2 separate regions of the Homo sapiens genome follow, and region 1 is linked to region 2. Evidence: promoter capture Hi-C in 16 types of primary human blood cells and fetal thymus (Javierre and others, 2016). All regions are on one chromosome and are shown on one strand. Each heading gives the region's core, a stretch centred on a gene start or on the middle of the fragment in contact. The rest is flanking DNA. Distances are from core to core; before and after follow the strand shown.

Evidence for each region. The method cuts DNA at HindIII sites, captures the fragments that hold promoters and counts their contacts. A CHiCAGO score of 5 or more calls a contact.
Region 1: a fragment that was not itself captured here is called in contact with the fragment with the promoter of GGCX in region 2 in 1 of 17 cell types (monocytes); the score reaches 5.1 in monocytes.

The regions. Positions count from the first base shown.
Region 1 is chr2:86,114,965-86,121,384 of GRCh38, forward strand. PTCD3 (pentatricopeptide repeat domain 3) reads left to right here. Exons shown (of 24, transcript NM_017952.6): 5 at 1,566-1,634; 6 at 2,091-2,195; 7 at 3,957-4,080. Among named protein-coding and RNA genes, the nearest start is that of PTCD3, 12 kb to the left of the region's middle. The HindIII fragment of the contact is 3,021 bases long and covers 3,646-6,420 here.
Region 2 is chr2:85,558,527-85,564,892 of GRCh38, forward strand. GGCX (gamma-glutamyl carboxylase) reads right to left here and starts at 2,967. Exons shown (of 15, transcript NM_000821.7): 1 at 2,860-2,967; 2 at 2,289-2,459; 3 at 391-549; 4 at 1-79. The coding sequence starts at 2,902. RefSeq lists an enhancer at 2,941-3,170. The HindIII fragment of the contact is 2,007 bases long and covers 2,313-4,319 here.

The DNA.
Region 1 (6,420 bases), core at 3,906-6,405, 560 kb after region 2:
GAGACCCAGTGCCCAGAGTTTTTAGGGGAGGCTGGCCATGTAGACCACCCACTGGCTGGCATATATTATACCAAGTTTCCATACTCCCAGAAGGGAAGCAGGTGTTTGGCACAAAACACGTTGTACAAACAGGTTAGGCACAGTGAACCATTCTTAGCAGTTCTAGGAATGGTGAGAACCCTTCCAATATCCAGGTTCCCAGATGGCAGCCAAGGGCCAGCCTTGGACGCAGACCTTCCTAAGGATAATGGTTTCAGGTCTGTTAACTCTTTTCTGCAAAATATCAAAATTTTAGATGCCTGATATCACTACCAGTCACCTTGGTTATTGTCGTCTTACAAGTCTGGATTAATTGCAGCAGTCTCTGTCGTCTCCCACTGCACCTCCCTGCACACTGCTCTCAGTTCAGCAGCTGTAGTGACCCTGGATCATATCACTCTTAAGAATTCAACATTGGCTTTCCATTAGTATAATTCAAATAAAAACTGAAGTTCACAACAGGGCTGCTAAGGTGAGGCTCAAGGGAAAGGGGTTTTTGAAAGGGGTAGCAGAAAGCTAGGTCCAAAATAAAACACTGCCTCCAGGTTCCAGGTATGAGCAGCTTTCCGTTGAGAGCTGCAGGGAAGCTTCTGTGCCCCCTCCCTGAGGAGTCCAGGTCAGTAAAACAGCATTAAGGATATAGGATAAGTTTTTGCTTTGGAATAAAGGCCCAAGTAAGGCACTCAGACACAGAAGAGAATAAAGAAAGCAATTCTGGGGCATTTCTCAGTGGGGCCCCTGGTGGTATTGGAGAGTTGATTATGCTCAGGTTTAGGGAGCAATTTTAATGGGTAACAGGACGTGGGAGAAGGTTCTGTTGTTCATTCCTCAGAGGGCACGGTGATATCTTCCATTTGGAGGAGGGACTCTTGGTGAAGTTGAGCGTGGGTGGATAGTGACCTTGCTTTGGAGGAAATCCTATTCTGGGATTCTGCTGTTAGGACTAGTTAATTCAGATGATTCTTACCTAGAGTTTAAAACAGTCCCCAGTGGTAGCAAACTTAAATATTAAAATCAGCCATGGGGAGGGAGGCTTAAGCCATTGCTTGCCTTGCATAATTAAAGGCAAGTCTTGTAGAGCTGAGAGTACAGTGCAGGTGTTTGTCTTTTGTCTTTTTTCTCTATATATACATGTATATATGCCCACACACGTTTGCGCATTTAGGTTACATACATAATTACAACTTACGGAATTTTTGTTTATCAAAACTCACAAGGTCCTCTTAAAAATTTAGCTAGAAAGACTTGTGGGCTGGATACAGTGGCTCACGTCTATAATCCTAGCCCTTTGTAAGGCAGAAGTGAGAGAACTGCTTGAGGCCAGGAGTTTGAGACCAGCTTGGGTGACACAGCAAGACACCCTCTCTGCAAAAAATTTTGTGAAATGGCCAGCTGTGGTGGCACACACCTGTAGCCTAGGCTACTTGGGAGGCTGAGGCAGGAGAATCCCTTGAGTCCAGGAGCTAAAAGTTACAGTGAGCTGTCTTCAAAATAAATATAGAAATTGTATTATGTCTTTTCCACAGGATACCACAGCTGTGCCTTATGTGTTTCAAGATGATCCTTACCTTATGCCAGCATCATCTTTGGAATCTGTGAGTATTTTCATATAATTTTCTAGTGTTTTATCTCTCTGGTTTGCGTACAACAGTACATAAATAATTTAGTTGTAATAACCTGGGAAAGGTTTACAAATGCTGAGAAATTGATAGACTATGTGAATCCTTTACTACTTTCTTCAAAAAGATGTACATATCGTCAATGGGGAAAGGATTTTTGGTTTTGGTTTCTAATACTTAGGGCTTTTTCACACTGGAGTGACCCACTCAGTTTAAATGGCTTGCTTTTTATATATTTCAAGCTGTGTATAAGATGCTAACTGAAATTATATCACAGTAGAAAAGGTGGGATAGTCTATAATTTCTAATTGGGATTCTGCGTGTTGTTGCATTTGTTTTTTTTTGTGAGGGGGGAGAAATTCTTGCTGAGAGTGTAACTATAATCTTGCTTGAGTTTAAATTACATGTATTTAAATCTTTTTCTTTATATAGCGTTCATTTTTACTGGCAAAGAAATCCGGGGAGAATGTGGCCAAGTTTATTATTAATTCATACCCCAAATATTTTCAGAAGGACATAGCTGAACCTCATATACCGGTAAGGAGAGGTAGTTACATTATTTACATAATACTATTTTAAATGTAAATTAAACCAGGCTTTCATGGCTAATATTTCAGTAGCTATTTGAATACCCTCAATATTTGGATGATAAGCCTTTTAAAGTGTGGAGTTAGCTTTGATCACAAGACTAACTTTAAAATTCTTTCTGTATTTATTTGCTCTTCATCTTAATATTTTCCCCATTTGATTTTTGTGACACCATGCTCTTAGGTCTTTAATTCTATGACTGAAGTTTCCTTCACTACCTCTCTATACACATCTTTCTCTTCCTTTTTTTTTTTTTTGAAACGGCATCATGCTGTCACCCAGGCTGGAGTGCAATGGTACAATCATAGCTCATTGCAGCCTGGAACCCCTGGGCTCAAGTGATCCTCTTGCCTCAGCCTCACAAGTAGCTTGGACTACAGGGGTGTGCCACCATGCCTGGCTGATTTTTTTTAATTTTTAGTTTTTGTAGAGAACAGGGTCTTGTCTCACTGCACTGCCCAGGCTGGTCTCAAATTTCTGGGCTCAAGCAAACACCCTTCTCAGCCTCTGCAATCTCTGGGATTGCAGGTGTAAGCCACTGCTGCTTGCTCTTGATCCGCTTCTTTTTTTGTTTGTTTTTGTTTGAGATGGAGTCTCACTCTGTTGCCCAGGCTGGAGTGCAGTGGCACGATCTTGGCTCACTGCAGCCTCTGCCGCCCGGGTTCAAGCAATTCTCCTGCCTCAGCCTCCTGAGCAGCTGGGATTACAGGTGCCTGCCACCGCACCTGGCTAATTTTTATAGTTTTAGTAGAGACGGGGTTTTACCATCTTGGCCAGGCTGGTCTTGAACTCCTGACCTCGTGATCCACCCGACTTGGCCTCCCAAAGTCCTGGGATTACAGGTGTGAGCCACCGTGTCCGGCCTTGATCCACTTCTTAAGCATGGGTATCTTTCTTAGATTTTTATGCTCATTTTCTCTTTTTATTGTGTATACTCTTCTGTTTCAGTGACGCTTATAATCCATTTGGTACTCTTTTGTATATCTAGCCTAGATCCCTTTACTTTGAACTCCACATTGTATTTCCAGCTCCCTCTTTGTTCTGTAGTTTTGGAGTGAGGATTTATGCAGTGTGGTGGGTATTGTGCTTAGTGCTTGTCCATACAGTGGTGAGCAAAACAGATGCGCCTCTGCCCTCCTGAGTTTGTTGGTGGAAGTACTAATCTCAGACTCATCATATCTAAACTGCTCCCATATCCCTACATCTCTCTGCTTCCCAAAGCTCACAGGGAAACACACACTTCTTGTTTTCATAGTAGAACTTGCACATAGATGAGGAAGCCAGTGTGATTGTGTAAGTCAAAATATTAAAATCCTAAACTAAGACAGTGTCTTTCTCCATTAGATTGTGAGCACCCTGAAGGTAGAGAATGCCTTTCGTCTCTGTATCCCCAGTGCCAAGCTTAATGTCTGGGGTAAAATAGTAGGCATTCAGAAAGTATTTGAATAAGTTAGTGAATGAGGTAAAATCAGCATACCTTGGGTAGTATTAAATGTTTAGATGATACACAGCATTAGAGATGAAAGGTTTAGTTCAATTCCCTGTGAAGACAGTGATGTTAAAATGATCAGTAGTATCTGGTGCAGGAAACATGAATTGGAGCAGTGAAGTTTTACTTTGGTATGTTGGTGATAAAAGTTTTGTCCTACTCAGTTATCCTTCCCTCACCTTTACCTGTTTGTAGTAACTTTAGTCATCTTGTTTTCCTAGTGTTTAATGCCTGAGTACTTTGAACCTCAGATCAAAGACATAAGTGAAGCCGCCCTGAAGGAACGAATTGAGCTCAGAAAAGTCAAAGCCTCTGTGGACATGTTTGATCAGCTTTTGCAAGCAGGTGACTGAGTTCGATTAAAGCCCCTCTAATAACATGGGCTTTGAAGTGGGCCCAAGTTATATGATTCATATATTTTGAGTAAGAGTTACAGGTCCTGCTGTACTTACTCTGCTTTGATGGCTGCGTGCTTTATATTTTTAGTAGTTTATTTCATTTTTAGCTTTAGTGTTACTTAAGAATTACAGGCGAAGTAGAATTGCAGCTTTGTTGGTTTATTGTAGCACTGGTAGAGAAATTGTATCACCCTTCTACCTTAGCTTCTGTTTTTAATGTTAGGTAGGTATGCAGTGCTCCCAGATTTCCTGTACCCTTTTCCTTTTTTTTTTTTTTGAGATGGAGTCTTGCTCTGTCGCCCAGGCTGGAGTGCAGTGGCGCAATCTCGGCTGACTGCAAGCTCCGCCTCCCAGGTTCATGCCATTCTCCCTCCTCAGCCTCCTGAGTAGCTGGGACTACATGCACCCACCACCACGCCCAGCTAACTTTTTTGTGTTTTTAATAGAGGCGGGGTTTCACCATGTAGCCAGGATGGTCTCGATCTCCTGACCTCGTGATCCACCCACCTCGGCCTCCGTAAGTACTGTGATTACAGGCGTGAGCCACCGCGCCCAGCTTTCCTAGACTCTTTAAGGATGTTTGGAAGATTGGGCCACAACACACAAGAAAGAAATACGTGAAAAGGAAAGCACACTCAACTAGGATCAGGGGCTTTGATGCTGGTGCCATCTGTGTCACTAATTGTTCTTAGCATTCAAAAAGTTACTTAATTTCTCAAAACTTCTAGCTCTAAAATTGTGTGGTTCTCTGAATTGGAGCTGGATGTAAACTTGCGGAGCTACACACGTAAATAGCACAGCTGATAAGTCAACATGAAAATCTACATATAGCAACATCAGAAGCAGCTGGCATTAAGTTTTTAGAATCTAGAGTGCTATTTGGTGATTTAGAATAAACATGGAAGTGGTGGAAACTGGACTGAATCATTATACACTTGAACACAAGAAACATTTGCAGAAAGCTATGTTTGAGAATTTTGGTGTGTGGCTTGGTACAGCATCAGATGTATGGCTGAGTGATGGCAATAGATTGTAATTTAGTGAGGCGCTTCCCTCTGCTTGTTAATATGATCGGCATCTGGTGTGAGTCTGCATTGAAGTTCTTAGTGCTAAGGCTTGTCTTTTTCTAGTTTTACCCCCTTTATTGGATAGGTGTGTGCAGTCCTTCAGTAAAGACAGGTGTCAGACCCATAGCTCAGTAACAAAGTGAGCTAACATACCAGGGAAAGGATCCTAGAACATTTCATTGTCAGGCCCCTAATAAGTGCAAAACACTGTGCTAGCCATTTCACATACTTAATTCTACAATACCTTATTCATTGGTGTGTTTTATAATAATCTTATGAAGGTAATTATTAGGTAATTTTTCCAGGGTCTCATAGCTTTGAGATAGTGTGAACCAGTTGCTTCTCCATAGCCTGTACCCTCTGCCCTGCTTTCTCTTCTGGACTTTTTACATTTCCTGATGGGCATTTTAAATTTATCAATGTATTTTGTTTAGAAAGATAATTTATTGGCTAGGCATGGTGGCTCACACCTGTAATCCCAGCACTTTGGGAGGCCAAAACAGGAGGATTGCTTGAGCCCAGGAGTTCAAGACCAGCCTGGGCAACATAGCGAGACCTCATCTCTACAAAAAATTTAAAAATTAGCCAGGTGCAGTGGCACATACCTGTAGTCACAGCTGCTCGGAAGGCTGAGGTGAGAGGATCACTTGAGCCCAGAAGTTCAAGGTTGTAGTAAGCTGTGATGTCCTTGCACTCCAGCCTGGGCGACAGAATGAGACCCTATCTCAAAACAAAAAGATACATTTACTTTTCTTATAAGATAGCAGATTATATCTCATACTTGTCTTCCTCCTATTCCCTTTTTAGCCTTTTTAATGAGTGTCAAGATGGGGACATAATGTTTTGAACAATTTTTAAGAGACTACTATAGTTCGACAATTATGCTAGTATTTCTAGGCAAGTTTTCAGTGAGTATCTGGATCCAAATGGAATAATTCTACTTGCATTTGTTCAAATGCACCTGGGCTGGGGGAACTAAGTGGGGATAGTTTGCAGTGTGTTCAGTTTGGTGATGATAATTAAAACCATGAAGTAGTTTGAGGATAATGAGTACATAAAATAAGTGAGCACAGGCCCAAACTTCATCTTGTGTTCCAATCTTCTACGTCAAATTACATGGTTAATAGGGGTTATGTCCCTGTCTACGTCACTTCAGGTGTTTAAGTTGACGTTGAGTGCATAAAGTAGTGGACAACATTAAGTGTGTAGCCCTGAAGACC
Region 2 (6,366 bases), core at 1,717-4,216:
AGAAACACATACCAGTATGGCAGCAGGAATAACACACAGCTTATCCGGTAGCACAGGCCCAGCATCATGCCCAGTGCCCCTGGGATTTGTAGGGAGAGGATTAAGAGGTCAAGAGATCACCACAGGCCCAGTTTCCCTGGACCAGGATATGGTTGGAATTAAGAAAAATCAAGCATTGTATAATCACATAAAACTAAATGAAAATTAAATGTTATTTTAATATTTTAAAAAGAATTATGGGATCACAGCTTAAGTGACACACAGGTCAACAGCATGAAATTGATCACAGCAGAAGTGAAATAAGGTGCCAAAGACTTTGACCATTCACCAGCATGCTTCTATTTCTGTGTTTCTGGCAGGCCAGTCAATATTTCCCACAGTTCCCCTCACCCAGAAACATGATGGTGTAGACAAGATACATCCAGTCAAGTGGCAGTGGGCGTAGGGCATCCAGCAAGGGGAAGCGGCACACATCCAGCCCATCAAGGTATTTCCGGTCCAGAGAGCTGAGCCCCCGCTCCTGGGGAATGTCTAGCACCATCAAGAACCCTAAGAAGGCAATAGGGGAGTTGGTCATTGGGCCTCAGCTAAGGAAGCAGTAGAATACAGTGGAACACAGTTGACAGTGTGCAGCTCCAGGGTCAGACTTCTTTTCTAATCTTGGCTCTGCCATTTATTCAGTATTAATTATTGAGTGCCTACTCTGCACAGTACTACATCTGTTGTGCCATCTAGAACAGCCCCTGCAGCTCGGTTAACCAATTCCCCATTTGTGAGAAGGGGAATACATCACAGGACTACAGAGAGGATTAAATTACAGAAATGCACAAAATGCTATAAAAACTGTTAGGGTCTTGACAGCTATAAAGATCCATCCTATTGAGCTTCAGAAAGTGCTCTGGGAGGCCAGGCACGGTGGCTCACGCCTGTAATCCCAGCACTTTAGGAGGCTGAGGTGGGCAGATCACCTGAGGTTGGGAGTTCGAAACCAGCCTGACCAACATGGAAAAACCCCGTCTCTACTTAAAATACAAAAAAATTAGCCAGGTGTGGTGGCGCATGCCTGTAATCCCAGCTACTCGGGAAGCTGAAGCAGGAGAATCACTTGAACCTGGGAGGCGGAGGTTGCAGTGAGCCGAGATCACACCATTGCACTCCAGCCTGGGCAACAAGATCGAAACTCCGTCTCAAAAAAAGAAAGAAAGAAAGAAAGAAAGTGCTCTGGGAGTGCTTCTCAACCTTTTCTGCTTCCTGGCACACTCCAAAAACAGTTGCATTTCGTCAACACCCTGGGAATAAACAGAAGAGGCTACTCAGATCAGGAAGCCAGCTTGAGATAAAGCAGGGTTTCTCAACTTCAGGACTAGTCACATTTTGGGCTGGTTAATTATTTATTGAGGGGATTATCCAATGCACTACAGGACATTTAGGAGCACTCCCTGACCTCTATAGAGATGCCAGCAGCCACCTATTCTTCCTCCCCCAAGTTGTGACAACTAAAAATGTCTCTAAACATTGCCAAATGTCTCCCAGGGAGCAAAACTCCCTCCAGTTGAGAACTACTGGGCTAAGGGGACTAATATCTCTGCACATCTGTAAACCATTCCAAGCACACCATGCTGCGGCCTCAGTTAAGAAGCTCTTGATTAGGGAGTCACAGCCAAAAGGTATGGTCCCTGTGGCCCCCTGCTCTGTTTCTCTGAGTCTTCTGGGCAACTTCATGCCACAAGCAAAATGGGTCACTGCTGCCTCGCCTCTACATATCATATAGCATTTCTAGCTGGGTACGGTGGCTCACACCTGTAATCCCAGCACTTTGGGAGGCCGAGGCAGGCGGATCACCTGAGGTCAGGAGTTTGAGACCAGCCTGGCCAACATGGTGAAACCCCGTCTCTACTAAAAACACACATACAAAAAAAATAAAAAATTAGCCGGGTGTGGTGGTGGGCGCCTGTAATCCCAGCTACTCGGGAGACTGAGGGAGGAGAATCGCTTTAACCCGGGTGGCGGAGGTTACAGTGAGCCGAGATAGCGCCATTGCACTCCAGCTTGGGCAACAAGAGCGAAAGTCCGTCTAAGGAAAAAAAAAAAAGCATTTCTGGCCACCAAGTAAATCCTAACTGTAGGAGACAAAGCAGGTTTAATCCTAAACTTCGCAAAGACCTCTTCTTTTATACCAATGTCTTCAGCTCTGAGGAAAAGGGAGCTAAGTCTACTTGCAACCAAAAAATAGAGATTGTCATTCTCCACTCTCAACCAAATTGCTCCCACCCATAAACTGGACTCACCAAAAAGAAAACGAAAGACAGCTAAGCTTGCAGGGTCCGTTGGTCGATTCAGCAGGGTCACCAGCCTCCGCCAACTGGACAAATCTGTCCACTCAAAACCCAAGAGTTTCCCTATTCGGCTGTCCTGCCTGGGCCCTGAGATCAGTTCAGCCTTGTCTTTCTGTACTTTATCTGCAATCAATAAATGGAGAAAATATGTGTGCGGGGGTGGGCTCCACCTCAAATCAAAGAAATCACTGCACCAACAGCTCAGAGCTTCCGCCCACCCGGGTCGGCTCAATGAGGTTGCCTCAATGATCTGACTATAGGAAACATCCCTGCAGTGCAGCCCCCTCTCCACGATCCCCTAATGTCCCAGAACCCCTCAGACTACAGTCCCCTAACCGCAGTGTTCCCGAATGTCATCATCATTCAGAAGCCGCAGGCTGCAAATGTCTCACAGCACGCCCCCTTCCCCACAGAGGACCCCCCCCCCGCCTCACCGGGAGACACTGGGCGTCCTCCCGCCCCCGCCCCTCTGAGACCAGCGCTCCTAGGAACTCTCCGCCGGAGGGCGGGGTCCTAAGCCTACCTGAGCTGGGCGAGGTCCGCGCGGACCCGGCAGACACCGCCATTGCTCTGCGGAGGAGGCAGGTGGGTCACAGCTGCCGCGTCTGAACGGAGGCCGCCAGGAGAATTTGCTTCCCTAGGCTCCGCCTCCCGACGCGTCAGCGGCTGTGCGGCCGGCCGCAAAGCGCCAGCACTGTCGTAAATACTACCCACGACCGGCGGCGCCGGATTCCTTGCTTGGCGGCAGGGGGCGGAACAAGGAGCCTTGGAGCGGGGCAAAGGTACCCCTTAGTGCCGTTGATCTCCAGGGGCATTGTTAGACTCGCCTGTTATGCCTTCCGAGGGGGCCTCTGCTTTTTAAACACTGAAAAGAGTCTGAGTTCCCCAACTTCCTTGGGTCCTCCCCGACCCCATTAGTCCTCTCCGTCCCTGCGTCCCTGCGGTGCTCTCTGGTGTGAGGGATCGGGCGCAAAGGGCAAACTTTTTGTCAGAGTGACGCCGAGTTGAGGACGCGCCTGGAAATGTTGCCTGGGTTTTGAGCCATTGCACGACCCCTTCACTTTCTTTTCCAGGACCTGCAAAGAACCGAGGTTTCAAAGCAGTAGGGGCCGGGCACTGCTCTCGCTTGTAATCCCAACAGTTTGGAAGGCCAATGCGGGAGGATCGATAAAGAAAAAAAAAAAAGGCAACAACAAAAAAAGAAAAAACACTAAAAAAAAAGTTAGCTGTGTGTCGTGGCGCGCTCCTGTGGTTTCAGCTACTCGGGAGGCTGAGGTGGGAGGTTCGCTTGAGCCCAGTAGTTCGAGGCTGCAGGGAGCTGTGATCGCACCACTGCACTCCAGCCTGGGGGACACAGTGAGACCCCGTCTCAAAAAAAAAAAAAAAAAAAAACAAGCCGGGTGCGGCAGCAAGCCTGTAATCCCAGCACTTTGAGAGGCCAAGGCGGGCGGATCACTTGAAGTCAGGAGTTAAAGACCAGCCTGGCCAACATGGTGAAACCCCGTCTGTACTAAAAATACAAAAATAATCCGGGCATGGTGGCGTGCGCCTGTAATCCCAGCTACTCGGGAGGCTGAGGCAGGAGAATCGCTTGAACCTAGGAGGCGGAGGTTGCAGTGAGCCAAGATCGCGCTACTGCACTCCAGCCTGGGCGACAGAGTGAGACTCCGTCTCAAAAAACAAAAAACGAAAAAGAAAGAGAAAGAAAAGAAAAGGCGGGAAGAAAAGAAAGAAAGAAAATTAAAAGCAGCCAGGGAAACAGGAACAACATAACTGAAGAGGGGATACAGAGCAAGGGCAGTGAGTAGAGTGTGGCCCATCAGGGAAGGTTCTCAGAGGTGAGTCTGGAGCAGAATTAAATACCTAAATCTCTCCACTGGGATTAGCCAGCAGGAAAAGAAGAAGGCATCCCAGAGAAGCGGTTCTCAAACAGTTGGGTCTTGGGAACCATTTACAGTGTTAGAAATTATAGAAGACCCTAAAAGCTTTGTTTATGTGGATTATATCTTTCAATATTTGCCGTATTAGAAATTTTTTTGGCCGGGCGCGGTGGCTCACGCCTGTAATCCCAGCACTTTGGGAGGACGAGGCGAGTGGATCACGAGGTCAGGAGATCGAGACCATCCTGGCTAACACGGTGAAACCCCGTCTCTACTAAAAATACAAAAAATTATCCGGGCGTGGTGGCAGGCGCCTGCAGTCCCAGCTACTCGAGAGGCTGAGGCAGGAGAATGGCGTGAACCCAGGAGGTAGAGCTTGCAGTGAGCCGAGATCGCACCACTGCCCTCCAGCCTGGGCGACAGAGCAAGACGCCGTCCTGAAAAAAAAAATTTTTTTTTTTGAGGCCAGGCGCGGTGGCTCACGCCTGTAATTCCAGCACTTTGGGAGGCCGAGGCGGTTGGATCACTTAAGGTCAGCAATTTGAAATCAGCCTCGCCAACATGGTAAAACCCCGTCTCTACTAAAAATACAAAAAAAATGAGCCGGGTGTGGTGGCAGGCGTCTATAATCCCAGCTACTCAGAAGGCTGAGACAGGAGAATCACTTGTACCCGGGAGGTGGAGGTTGCAGTGATCCAAGATCGAACCACTGCACTCCAGCCTGGGTGACAGAGTAAGACTCTGTCTCAAAAAAAAAAAAAAAAAAAAAAGGCCGGGCACGGTGGCTCACACCTGTAATCCCAGCACTTTGGGAGGCTGAGGCAGGTGGATCACAAAGTCAGGAGTTCGAGACCAGCTTGACCAATACGGTGAAACCCCGTCTTTACTAAAAATACAAAAATTAGCCGGGTGTGGTGGCACGTGCCTGTAATCCCACCTACTGGGGAGGCTGAGGCAGGAGAATCGGTTGAACCCGGGAGGCAGAGGTTGCAGTGATCCCAGATTGCGCCACTGTACTCCAGCCAGGGTGAAAGAGCAAGACTCCATCTCAAAAAAAAAAAAAAGCTTTCTAACTTCTACTACAAAGGAAAAAAAATGGCATGTTTCTGTAGTCTCAGCTATTCCCAGCTTTTCTGGAGGCTGAAGCAAGACAATCACTTTAGTTCAGGAGTTTAAGACTAGCCGGGGCAACATAATGGGATCCATCTCAAGGAAAAAAAAAAAAAGCTATCAAGCCATTAGAAAACATGGAGGAACCTTAAATTCATATTGCTAAGCGAAAGAAATCAATGTGGAAAGACTACAAACTATGATTCCATCCATATGACATATATATATGTATTTTTTTGAGTCAAGGTCTTGCTATGTTGCCCAAGATGGTCTTAAACTTCTGGTCTCAAGCAATCCTCCTGCTCAGCCTTCCAAAGTGCTGGGATTACAGGCATGAGGCAGTGCGTTTGGCCCCAACTGTATGATATTCTGAAAAGGCTAAACTATGGAGATAATAAAAAGATCAGTGACTGCCAGGGAAGTGGAGTTGGGGGGAGGAAGGGATGGTAGGTGGAGCACAGGGGAGTTTTACAGAAGTGAAACTATTTTGTATGATGTAATAGTGTCATGGTGGATACATGTCATACTTGTGTGTGGAAAAGAGTAAAGCCTAATGTAACTTATGGACTTAGTTAATTATAATGTATCAATATGGACTATGTTTTTTTGTTTGTTTGTTTTTTGAGACGGAGTTTCCCCCTTGTTGCCCAGGCTGGAGTGCAATGATGCGATCTCGGCTCACTGCAACCTCTGCCTCCCAGTTTCAAGCGATTCTCCTGCCTCAGCCTCCTGAGTAGCTGGGATTACAGGCACCCGCTTCCACGCCCAGCTAATTTTTTGTATTTTTAGTAGAGATGGGTTTTCACTATGTTGACCAGGCTGGTCTTGAACTCCTGACCTCAGGCGATCCACCCGCCTCGGCCTCCCAAAGTGCTGAGATTACAGGCATGAGCCACCGCGCCCGGCTGGGCTATGTTAATAATATACCAATACTGGCTCATCAGTTGTAACAAATGTACCACACTAATGCAAAAAGTTAATAATAGGAAAAATGGGGAGCCTGAAGGGGGATATGGGAACTCTCGGTACTTTCTTCTTCT